2 separate regions of the Homo sapiens genome follow, and region 2 is linked to region 1. Evidence: promoter capture Hi-C in 16 types of primary human blood cells and fetal thymus (Javierre and others, 2016). All regions are on one chromosome and are shown on one strand. The core of a region is centred on a gene start or on the middle of the fragment in contact, and the rest is flanking DNA. Distances in the headings are between cores, read along the strand shown.

Evidence for each region. Contacts are between HindIII fragments. The CHiCAGO score rates a contact against its expected background, and 5 or more counts as called.
Region 2: a contact is called between a fragment that was not itself captured here and the fragment with the promoter of COX6A2 in region 1, in 5 of 17 cell types (M2 macrophages, M1 macrophages, megakaryocytes and 2 more). The highest score is 8.1, in M2 macrophages.

What each region holds. Positions count from the first base shown.
Region 1 is chr16:31,424,455-31,430,503 of GRCh38, reverse strand. It overlaps COX6A2 (cytochrome c oxidase subunit 6A2), which reads left to right and starts at 2,144. Exons shown (of 3, transcript NM_005205.4): 1 at 2,144-2,251; 2 at 2,353-2,489; 3 at 2,647-2,773. The coding sequence starts at 2,179. The coding sequence ends at 2,730. ITGAD (integrin subunit alpha D) reads right to left here. Exons shown (of 30, transcript NM_005353.3): 29 at 5,927-6,037; 30 at 3,999-4,489. The coding sequence ends at 4,376. The HindIII fragment of the contact is 1,386 bases long and covers 1,384-2,769 here.
Region 2 is chr16:31,345,321-31,351,106 of GRCh38, reverse strand. No RefSeq gene overlaps it. Among named protein-coding and RNA genes, the nearest start is that of ITGAX, 7.0 kb to the left of the region's middle. The HindIII fragment of the contact is 1,480 bases long and covers 3,236-4,715 here.

The DNA of each region.
Region 1 (6,049 bases), core at 895-3,394:
GCAGCAACCAGAAAAACTCTGAGGGGCCTTTTAGGGGAGAAAAGAAACCTAGAACCTTTTCTTCCTTTTTTCCTTCTTTTTTTTTTTCTTGAGAGAGTCTTACTCTGTCACCCAGGCTGAAGTGCAGTGGCACAATCTTGGCTCACTACAACCTCCACCTCCTGGGATCAAGCGATTCTCCTGCCTCAGCCTCCCGAGTAGCTGGGATTACAGGCACGGGCCACCACACCCAGCTAATTTTTGCATTTTTAGTAGAGATGGGGTTTCACCATGTTGGCCAGGCAGGACTCAAACTCTTGACCTCAAGTGATCCGCCCTCCTCATTCTCCCAAAAGTGCTGGGATTACAAGCGTGGGCCACTATGCCAGGCCTCTAGAACTTTGTCAAGTAAAAATACCTGTCTTCATGTCTGTTTTCTCCAGGAGCCATTATCTTATATACGTAGGGAGGGGGCTATGTGTAGAGGGAGATGCCAGGTATCTTTAACTGGAATAGGGCCCCATCTTCTCTGCAACAATGCCAAAGTCCAGCTGGGAAAAAAACTGTAGGAAGAATTCTATTATAGCTCAGTGAGAGCTCAGGAATAATTTTTGTAACACTGTATAACATTTGACTGCTCAAGGAGGTTATTTTTTTTAAAAATAGCAGCAGCTTAAAGTTGGATGGAACATACTGTTCAGTTTATTACCAATGAGAAACAGGTATAGAGCCCCTTCTTGAAAATATATCTTCCTCGTTTTTTTTATATATTAAATTCAGATTATATGTCTATATAATTCATTCTTCTTTTGTATATTAAGTTCATATTAGTACATCAGCCCTTGATCAAAGCTAGAAGCTTCCTATTGGATTGTAATTCTGAAAAGGCATTGTTGTAGGGTTAACCAAAGTAACAAGGTTCAAGCATTCATTACATACATATTTTTAGAACACCTCCTTCATGCCAAGGTCCCTGCCCGTTGCTGAGGACAGAACAGGCAGATGTCATCCCTGCCTGGTCTTGTGGCTTTCTTGTGACCTGCTTTGATAGAGGGTTCACACCAGCCCTGTCTAGGCTTGCTTTCTCCAAGTAGTCATATTTTTCAGATTGAAATAATGCACTTTGCAGTAGACACCTGTCAGGCTTGTGGCTGCCTGGAACCTTTTGAATACTCATCCTAGACCTGGAGATTTTCCCTACAATTCCTGCCTCCCTAAGGCAGAATCCAGAGCTCAGTTTCCCATCCCCTCCTGCAGCTGGGGGACCTAGGGGTTGCCAGTTGGTGCAATCACATAATTCTTTCAGAAAAGAGCGACCCAGGATACAGGTTTCATGAAGAATCTGTTTTCAAGAGGGGATGAGGGTGGAAAATTCTGGTTTTCCAGGGCAGCCTTAATGAAGCTTTTGGCATCCAGGGTCCAGCAGTGTGAGCTGTGGGGGTGTCACTGCAGCTGGCCAACGGAATGACTTGTTTATGACTGTGCAGACTGTAGGCATCTCTGGCTATATCAGACATAGTAAGCTACCTAAGATTCTCAATTACTTATCTTCTAAAACTAGTAAGAGTGAGTTCTGTTCTTTGCAAAGAACTGTGACTAATACATATACTGAACTACTGTTACCTGCCAAAATCCAGGTTGACACATTCCTACCTTACATAAACTTCATAAAAATGATGTAAGGGCCGTGTAGTGGCTCATGCCTGTAATCCCAGCACTGTGGGAGGCTGAGGCGGGAGGATCACGTGAGCTCAAGAGTTCCACACCAGCCTGGACAATATAGTGAGATCCCCGTCTCCAGTATTTAAAAAATCTTTTAAGGTACGAATTATTATACATTTTACAGCTGAAAACACTGAGACTCAAAAAGACACTTAATTCATTCTACAAATATTTATTAAAGCCCAACTGTGTGCCAGCCACCAGGCATAGAATAGGGAACAAAATAGTTTCCCTGCAACTATATAAAAAGAATGGCATATTGTACTTAAATGCCTCCTTGCCAAAATAAGAGGCACAGGACAACAGCTGTCTGGAGATGACCTCAAGCCAGTCAGGCCCCATTTTAAATATAGAAACCCCTAAGAATAGCCGCCAGTGCTCCAGACTCAACAGGTGATTGGCCCAGAGAGGGGAGGTGACCCCAGGCCCCAGGAAAGGGAGCGAGGACAGCGCTGGTTCCCGGCTCCCCGCACCATCATGGCTTTGCCTCTGAGGCCCCTGACCCGGGGCTTGGCCAGCGCTGCCAAAGGAGGCCACGGAGGAGCAGGAGGTGAGTGGGGAACGGGCGGATCCGGGGGCTCCCCTACCCTGCCCACCTGTTCACAGGCCCGCCGCCCCAGGACCGCCGCGCTCACCCCGCTCCGTCCGCAGCTCGTACCTGGCGTCTGCTGACCTTCGTGCTGGCGCTGCCCAGCGTGGCCCTCTGCACCTTCAACTCCTATCTCCACTCGGGCCACCGCCCGCGCCCCGAGTTCCGTCCCTACCAACACCTCCGCATCCGCACCAAGGTACGCGGGACGGGCGCGCGGGCGGCACGGGGGTGCTGCGGGGGCGGGGGGGGGTGCTGCGGGGGCGGGGGGGGGTGCTGCGGGGGGGGGGTCGCGCGGGGCGCGGACTCCGGACTCACGGCGCTCACGCGCGCTCCCTCCCCCGCTCTCTCCACAGCCCTACCCCTGGGGGGACGGCAACCACACTCTGTTCCACAATAGCCACGTGAACCCTCTGCCCACGGGCTACGAACACCCCTGAGGCCCCGGACGCCCCCGGACACAATAAAGGTGTGAAGCTTCGAGTCTGCGGCTCTGTGGGGAGGGCGGGGCCACGGGGAGCGCGCCCAGAGGCGCCCGCTCCGCGCATGCGCCCAGCTTGGTAAGCGCTCCTGCTCCGCGCATGCGCCTAGCGCGGTGGGCGCTCCACGTGCTTTTCCCACGCCGCTGATACGGAGGTGCTCGAGGGAGCCTCCTCCACTCACAGGTAGGCGATCCCAGCTCCCTGTCTCTCACCTGGTAATAATGAGGCCTCCCTCTCACACACACCTATTAATAATTAGGGCTCTAGGCTGTAATGGGCTTCCGCGTACACCGAATCCTCACAGTAACGCTGGGAGCAGGGTATAAATTTAGTTCACCTTCTCCCGAGGAAGACCTGAGATTCTTGGGAATTAAATGACTTGTCCAAGTTCCGGCAGCTCGGCAGAGCCCCCATGGGAGCCCAGGGCTGCAGATCCTGAAGTCCCACTTCTTGCCTGACACCTGAGCTGCTGGTGTCTGTGAATCCCAGCTCTCTGGATTTCAGACGGAGGCTCCACAGTCCTGTGTGTGAGGCCTTGGGACCTAATGCTGGATTTGGAATCTTTTGATAATTCTCTATAATCTTTCTTTCTTTTTTTTTTTTTTTTTTTGAGACGGAGTCTCGCTCTGTCGCCCAGGCCGGACTGCGGACTGCAGTGGTGCAATCTCGGCTCACTGCAAGCTCCGCTTCCCGGGTTCACGCCATTCTCCTGCCTCAGCCTCCTGAGTAGCTGGGACTACAGGCGCCCGCCACCGCGCCCGGCTAATTTTTTGTATTTTTAGTAGAGACGGGGTTTCACCTTGTTAGCCAGGATGGTCTCGATCTCCTGACCTCATGATCCACCCGCCTCGGCCTCCCAAAGTGCTGGGATTACAGGCGTGAGCCACCGCGCCCGGCCTATAATCTTTCTTAATGAGTCTTCTATATGGGAAATCACATGCTCCTAGCCTGGCTCTCCTGGCTTCTGAGTACCTCATTCAAGGGGGACAGGAGTTCAAATGAGCTCTGGACATTTCTTCACCTCCTAGGACAGCCTGCCCACTTACCATTACAGAGGAACCTGAAGTGTGTGAAGAAACCCATGACCAATGCATGCCTGCGTGCACGTGCATGCACATGCACACACACACACACACACACACACACACACACTCTTTGACCCTCTCCCCTGATACACACCTCTCAGCCCCATCAAGAAAAGATGACCTCAGGCTCCCATCACCATAGAAAGTGAAAAAACTTTTTCAATGCCCACAAATAGGTTCCCCCGACTATTCCCAGAGAGGCACTCAGGTCCCTGGGTTATAGCTCTTCCACGCAAGGAAAGTGTGCTATAAACATCCTCATTTCATGTGACAATTCTTAAGCATATGAAAATTTATGCTGGCACCATGCCTGCTTCTGTAAAAAGTGGGTCATTGCTGAAAAAGATGGACAGATATGTAAAAACATTACAATCTCTATCTCTCCGAGAAGGTGCTTAGCACCTGGTAGGTTGCTTAGGCCAGTGCAGATCTATGCAGAAGTTGTTTCCATGTAAGTTGATTTATGGTTGCAAGCAAGTCCAGCCCACAGTGGTAGAGATAAACAGGAAAGTGGATTATTAGGACAAAGGCACATTTGGGGCCACACAGCTGAAATCGTCCCCACTGAATGTGGCAGTGTCTTCAGGCTTGTCCTCCAGCATTTCCTTGTAGTGGCGTTTGAAGAAGCCAAGCTATCAGGGGAAATAAATTAGAAAAGCTGGGTAAGTCCGGGCCCGGTGGCTCACACCTGTAATCTCAGCACTGTGGGAAGCTGAGGAGGGTGGATCACCTGAGGTCAGGAGCTGGAGACCAGCCTGGCCAACATGGTGAAACCCCGTCTCTACTAAAAATACAAAAATTAGCTGGGTGTGGTGGTGCGCCTGTAATCCCAGCTACTCAGGAGGCTGAGGCAAGAGAATCGCTTGAACCCGGGAGGCAGAGGTTGCCGTGAGCCAAGATCATGCCACTGCACTCCAGCCTGGGCAAGACAGCAAGACTCCATGTAAAAAAAAAAAAGAAGAAGAAGAAAAAGAAAAGAGAAAGAAAAGAAAGAAAAGCTGGGTAAGAGGGCAGGGAAGAAAATTGGGAATAAGAGGAAGCTGAGAGAGAAGAGGAGGCAACAACTAAGCTAACTTACGTTTGTGTGCGAGAACATTTATGTGAACAGCTATCATATATCGAGCATCTGCTGGCCCCGAGCACAGTAGGTACACACACGACCCGTGGCAGGACAGCATAGATCCAGGCAGATCTGTGCACATGCCCTGGCCTCATTTCTCTCTCACTTCAGCCACTCTGTGATATAAGCATTATTATCATTTCAAAAATGAGAAACGGCCGGGCACAGTGGCTCATGCCTGTAAACCCAGCAGTTTGGGAGGCCGAGGTGGGCGGATCACATGAGGTCAGGAGTTTGAGACCAATCTGACCAACATGGTGAAACCTCTCTCTACTAAAAATACAAAAAATAGCCAGGTGTGGTGGTGTGTGCCTGTAGTCCTAGCTACTTGGGAAGCTGAGGCATGAGAATCTTTTGAACCTAGGAGGTGGAGGTTGCAGTGAGCTGAGATTGTGCCACTGCACCCCAGCCTAGGCAACTGAGTGAGACTCCATCTCAAAAGAAAAAAAAGAAAGAGAGAAACAGGCTTAGAGAGGTGGAGCAACTTGCCTAACATTAAACAGTGAGTACATGATAGAGCCAAAATGTGTGTCCAGGCCTGTCTGCCTCCACAGTCTGAGTTCTCACTATATCAGCCAGTCTGTAGGAGGGCTTGGGTTGGATGCTGGTGGTGTCAAGAATGGGATAAGGCCGGATGAGGTGGCTCACACCTGTAATCCCAGAACTTTGGGAGGCCAAGGTGGGCGGATCACCTGAAGTCAGGAGTTCGAGACCAGCCTGGCCAACATGATGAAACTCCATCTCTACTAAAAATACAAAAAACTAGCCGGGCATGGTGCAGTCCACCTGTAATCCCAGCTACTCGGGAGGCTGAGACAGGAGAATCACTTGAACCCGGGAGGTGGAGGTTGCAGTGAGCCAAGATCATGCCATTGCACTCCAGCCTGGGCAGTAAGAGTGGAAACTCCATCTCAAAAAAAAAAAAAAAAGAGTTGGATAAAACACTTGCCTTGTACAGTGTGGCTGTGATGAGCGCCAGCAGTAGCAGAGCCCCCACAGAGCTGCCCATGATGATGGGAATGGCATTGTAGACCTCGTCTTCTTCTAGCACCATCTCCATCTGATTTAGAGA
Region 2 (5,786 bases), core at 2,726-5,225, 81 kb after region 1:
CTATTACACAGGTATATTGCGGGGTGCTGAGGTTTGCACTTCTGTTGATCCTGTCACCCAAATAGTGAGCAGAGTGCCTGATAGGTGGTTTTGCAGCCCTTGCTCCCTTCCCTCCCTCTCCCCTTCTGGAGACCCCAGTGTCTGTTGTTCCCATCTTTATGTACATGTGTACCCAACGTTCAGCTCCCACTTACAAATGAGAATGTGCAGTATTTAGTTTTCTGTTCCTGCATTAATTCACTTAGGACTATGACCTCCAGCTGCATCCATGTTGCAGCAAAGGACGTGATTTCATTCTTTTTCATGGCTGCATAGTATTCCGTGGTGTGTGTAGCACGTTTTCTTTAACCAATCCACCACGGATGGGCACCCAGGTTGATTCTACGTCTTTGCTATTGCACTTTATTTATACTAGCTAATTGAACCCTCACAGCAGCCCCGCGACGGGGACTGCTGTCACCCCTGTTTCACAGATGCAAAACTGAGGCCCTGAGAAGTTGGGTCATCCTCCTCAGGTCACCCAGCTAGTGTGGGCTGAGGACAGGACTCAAGGTGCTGGAGTCTTGACTATTTGGCTAATGACTTTACTTCCTCCTCTCTGCCCTAAACGCTGCCTGTGTCATATTTGTTCCCTCAACCACTCATCCCACACGCATGGGCTGCCCACATGACATAGGCTCTGGGCTGGCCACTGTGAGAAGCAAGACAAACAGGAAAGGGTCTCAGCCCTCAAGGAGTCACACCCCAGAAGGAGATTACACCCCAGAAGTTTTACTAGACAGCACAGTGACTCTGCTTGATGAATCGCAGAGGGAGAGGCTTGAGATGAATTAGGCAGTGCCTGGTGCTCCAGGGGCTGGGCAGGGACTGCTGGCTTCCACACACTGGGGCCGTGTCCTTCTAACATTTCTTTTATTGTTTTGTTTTTCAGAAACAAAGTCTTACTCTGTCACCCAGGCTGGAGTGCAGTGGTGTGATCAGAGTTCACTGCAGCCTCAACCTCCAGGGCTCAAGTGATCCTCCCAATTCAGCCTCTTAAGTAGCTGGGACTACAGGTATGCACCACCATGCCTAGCTAATTTTTAAATGTTTTGTGAAGTTGGGGGCCTTGCTATGTTGCCCAGGCTGGTCTTGAACTCCTGGCCTTAGGCAATCACCCCCACCACCTCAGCCTCCCAAAGTGTTGAGATTACAGGTGTGAGCCACCACGCCCAGCAGTTTTAACCCTTTTATCCCCAGTTCTTCACACAATGCCTGATACATGGGAGGCACACAGTCCATACTTGGTGCATGAATGAAGTGAAAGAATGGCAGAATGTTATCCAGGCAACACAAGGATCTGATAGTTCCAGTCCCAGTCACGATTGCGGCTCAGTTATGTGCCTGGGAAAGAGCATTTGCTGCAATGGTTCTAAGCTGAGGGTGGGGGAGGGGAAGTTAATAATCAGTCTTTCTCAGTGAAGGATAAAAGATGACACTCTCTAGATGAGAGTTCATTGAAGGGAGATACTGCATCTCACTTCTCCTTGTCTCTCTAACAATGGGCATTGGACACCGAGCAGATACAACCAGGGGTCAGTTCCTGTCTGTGGGTGTAGGATGGATGGGTGACAGGAGGGTGGATAGGTTTGTGTGTGGACAGGTGGATGGATGAAAGGATGGGGTGGAGGGTGGATGGGCAAATGTGTGGGTGGGTGGGTGGGTGGGTGAACAGGTGGATGGGTGGAAGGATGGGGTGGTGGGTGGATCGGTAGATGGGTGGGTGAACAAGTGGATGGGTGGAAGGGTAGATGGGTGGGTGGGTGGGTGAACAGGTGGATAGGCGGAAGGATGCAGTGGTGCGTGGATGGGTAAATGGGTAGATGGGTGGGTGAACAGGTGAATGGATGGAATGATGGGGTGGTAAGTGGATGGGTAGATGGGTGGGTGAAGAAGAGACTGCACAGGTTTGAAGCAAATGGACCAAATGCTCAGCCCCCTCACCTGCAGACCTGCTCAATAATTGCATGAATCAGAAGCCGCCTGGAGCAAAGCAAGAGTCGCCTAAGAGGTAAACTAACTTGAATTGGTGTAAATTTAGAATAAAACAAGGATTTAACTTGAGTAACAGGCAACAGGAAACAAGTCAAGCAGAGGAAATCAATGAGAAGTTGGGGAATGTGGGCAACGCATCCCTGGCAGACAGGGAAATGCTGGGTCATGAGCAAAGGGAAGAGGGAGGAAGGAGCTCCTGCTGGCAAAGCCCCGGGAGAAATGAGGGCTGTCCCTGCTCAGACTCCCACACTGGCAAGCGATTTCACCAGAATGAGAAGAATATGGATTTAATTTGTATTTAAATTCAGTGAAATAGACACACAGGAGAAAAGGGGAAGTGAAGACAAGTCACTGAGAAACTGGGGAAGAAGGGAGAGAAGAGGAAAGATTATAGAAAAGAGGTGGTCACAGAAGGGGGCTTGGGTTTGCAGTGTTGGTGACAACACCCACACCTTCCATTTGAAGGCTTCCATTTGAAGGTGGAGGCTTCCCTCCACCCACCCATCCACCTGTTCACCCATCCACCCACCCATCTGCCCATCCACCCTCCACCCCATCCTTCCATCCGTCCACTTGTCCACACACAAACCCATCCACCCTCCCATCACCCATCCGTCCTACACCCACAGACAGGAACTGACCCCTGGTTGTATCTGCTCAGTGTCCAATGCCCATCATTGGAGAGACAAGGAGAAGAAAGCAGGATAGAGTGGGGAAAGAGGCTAAGTGACAAGGAGCTCTCCCCTGACCCTGACTCCAGCCTGGTCCCCGGAAGCTGTGAGCATGAATGGGTCCTTCCTTGAGGCTGAAGTGTGGCCCTTGGTTCTCCCCGGGTGGGTCAGTCATTGACCACCAGCCATTCTTCCCCACTTCCTCTAGCTTATCCCACTGCCACACAGAAGAAGGGGCTACTCCCCTGCAGGCAAGACCATTCCCCAGAGATTGGGGGCACTTGTGAGCCTTGAGCATCAACACAGCAACTGAGAAATTGGTGTTAACCCAATGTTAACCCTCCAAGCAAGAGTTTTTAAGGGCGAGGTACATTTCAGGAAAGCAGAAGTTACAGGCAAAATCATAAACCAATACCTGGAGGTTATACATTAGTTTGGCCTAAAAAGCCAGGATATCTTGAAGCAAGGCTTACAAGTCATACATGGGTTCAAAGATTCTTTGATTTGCAATTGGTTAAGGAAGGAAAGCTTCATCTAAAAACTTGGGGTCAGCAGGAAGGAATATTAAGGTCTGGCCTATGGGAGTGACTGTCTCTCCAGGGCCCTCAGGAAGAAATTTAGAGCAAAGAATAGTGATCAGAGTTCAGTCTTCACTTCCTCCTTATCAGTGGCCTACATACCAGCAGATGGCATTTTCCATCTGGGGGTGATATGGTTTGGATTTGTGTCCCCACTCAAATCTCATGTTGGATTATAATCTGCAGTGTTGGAGGAGGGGCCTGGTGGGAGGTGATTGGACCATGGGTGCGGATTTCTCCCTTGCTGTTCTCGTGATAGTGAGTGAGTCATCACAAGATCTGGTTGTTTAAAAGTGTGTAGCACCTCGCCCTGGTCTGTCTTCTTTCCTTCTCCAGCCGTGTAAGACATGACTCCTTCCTCTTCGCCTTCCACCATGACTGTAAGTTTCCTGAGGCCTCCCCATCCATGCTTCTTATAATGCCTGAGGAACCATTAGCCAATTAAATCTCCTTTCTTTATAAATTACCCGGTCTCAGGAAGTTCTTTGTAGCAATGCAAGAACGGACTAATACAGTGGGGGTCCAGGTTTCTGAAAAACAACTCAGGGATGTACGTTAAAACCCTTGGTTTTCTGGGGAACCACACATCTTGTGGCTCTCACTTCCTTGGCTATTGTTTGAAGTGACTGTTATCTTCTTGCTTACCGGGCTGCTCATATACTTCTCCAGATTAGCAAGGTGCCTGGAATTCTCCTTGAAGAAACTCAAGATTTTTCTTTATTTCCATGTGTAGGGGAACCCAGCAGGCCTCTGAAACGGATCCACGCTCAGTCTCAGGCACAGACAACATCTAGTGACCACAGAATGATTTCATCTTAATCCCTTTTTAGGGTAAAAGGAGGGAGTGAGAGAATCCCTAGGAAGGTGGGGTGAGAGAACAGAACAGGGCAGAAATCCAGGGTCTCTGTGAGAACTTGAACCAGTGGGGCCGTGCCTGGGAGGGGCTGGGCTGGAGATGCCTGTGTGAATTAAGAGAGGGAGAATTCCAAAGAGGAGGAGTAAGGCAGGGTCATCCCACTCAGCTTCTCTCTCCTGGCCCTGGCATGGTAGCAGGATTGGTCTCAACAGGCAAATGCGTATATGGCAGAACTTGGCAACCAATGCATTCCGTTCACATTCACTCAGCCCAGCCTGCAGAGGGATCTTATCCTTTAATGGCAGTGGGGCATAGGGGGCAGATAAGGGGAAGGATTTTAGCAATTGTTCAAGTCTGCGCCAAGATGGGAATGCCCACAGAGGAAGCAGAAAGGAAATTGCTCTATTGATCTATTTATCACAGTAGCTGGACCAGAGGATTGCGGAAAGACACAAAGACCAACCAAATGAGAACAGGCGAAGTCTATTTATTCAAAGCTGGCTCTAGCAAGGGAGTCAGTGGCCATCACTGGTGTTTTGGCAGAGACTCAAAAATGGGCAGTACAGTAGGAAAGCTTTGTAGTGGAAACTGGGAAGTCTTCAGGGATGCCCCAAGTAGAAGCTGCTGGCCTGGGAAGCTGTATGTGGCTCACTGGAAGCGGGCATCCTGTGCAATTGACTAGGGGACATATTTGGCTTTGTCTGGTTGGTCCTAAGTTGGAAGTAGGGACAAAAATTAGGGAAGCCATCAGTTATTGATTAAGTCCTGGACATGGGGCTGATTGTTAGTTATTGATAGGCTTCCTGGGCTGGTTGCTGCAGGCTGGGGGGCAGATGTCTATTTTTATGTCTAGTCTGACCACTATCCCTTTGTATATTCAGTCTCTTGGACTCTAGAAAATGTGAAGTATGCCAGGTGCGGTGGCTCATGCCTGTAATCCCAGCACTTTGGGAGGCAGAAGCAGGAGGATCACTTGAGCTCAGGAGCTCAAGACCAGCCTGGGCAACACAGCAAGACCCTGACTTTACAAAAATTTAAAAATTAGGCTAGTACTGGCTGGGCACGGTGGCTCACACCTGCAATGCCAGCACTTTGGGAGGCTGAGGTGGGCAAATCACGAGGTCAGGAGTTCAAGACCAGCCTGACCAACATGGTGAAACCCCGTCTCTACTAAAAATACAAAAATTAGCCAGGCGTGGTAGCGGGTGCCTATAATCCCAGCTACTCAGGAAGCTGAGGAAGGAGAATTGCTTGAACCCAGGAGGCGGAGGTTGCAGTGAGCTGAGATCGTGCCATTGCACTCCAGCCTGGATGACAGAGCAAGACTCCGTCTCAAAAAAATAAATAAATAATTAGGCTAGCACAGTAATGTGGGCCTGTAGTCCCAACCACTCAGGAGGCTGAAGCAGGAGGATCCCTTGAGCCTGGGAGATCAAGTATGCAGTGAGCTATGATCGCACCACTGCACTCAGCCTGGATGAAAGAGAAAGACCCTGTCTCAAAAAAAAAAAAAAAAAAAAGAAAGAAAGAAAAATGTGAAGTGGCCCAGTTGGATACTATATGGTCCTGAAGATGTGTTAGGATGAAGGGAAAGGGATGTCTGAGAGCTGTCTCTCCTTCAAGAGTGCACAGAGAATAGGAAGCTGG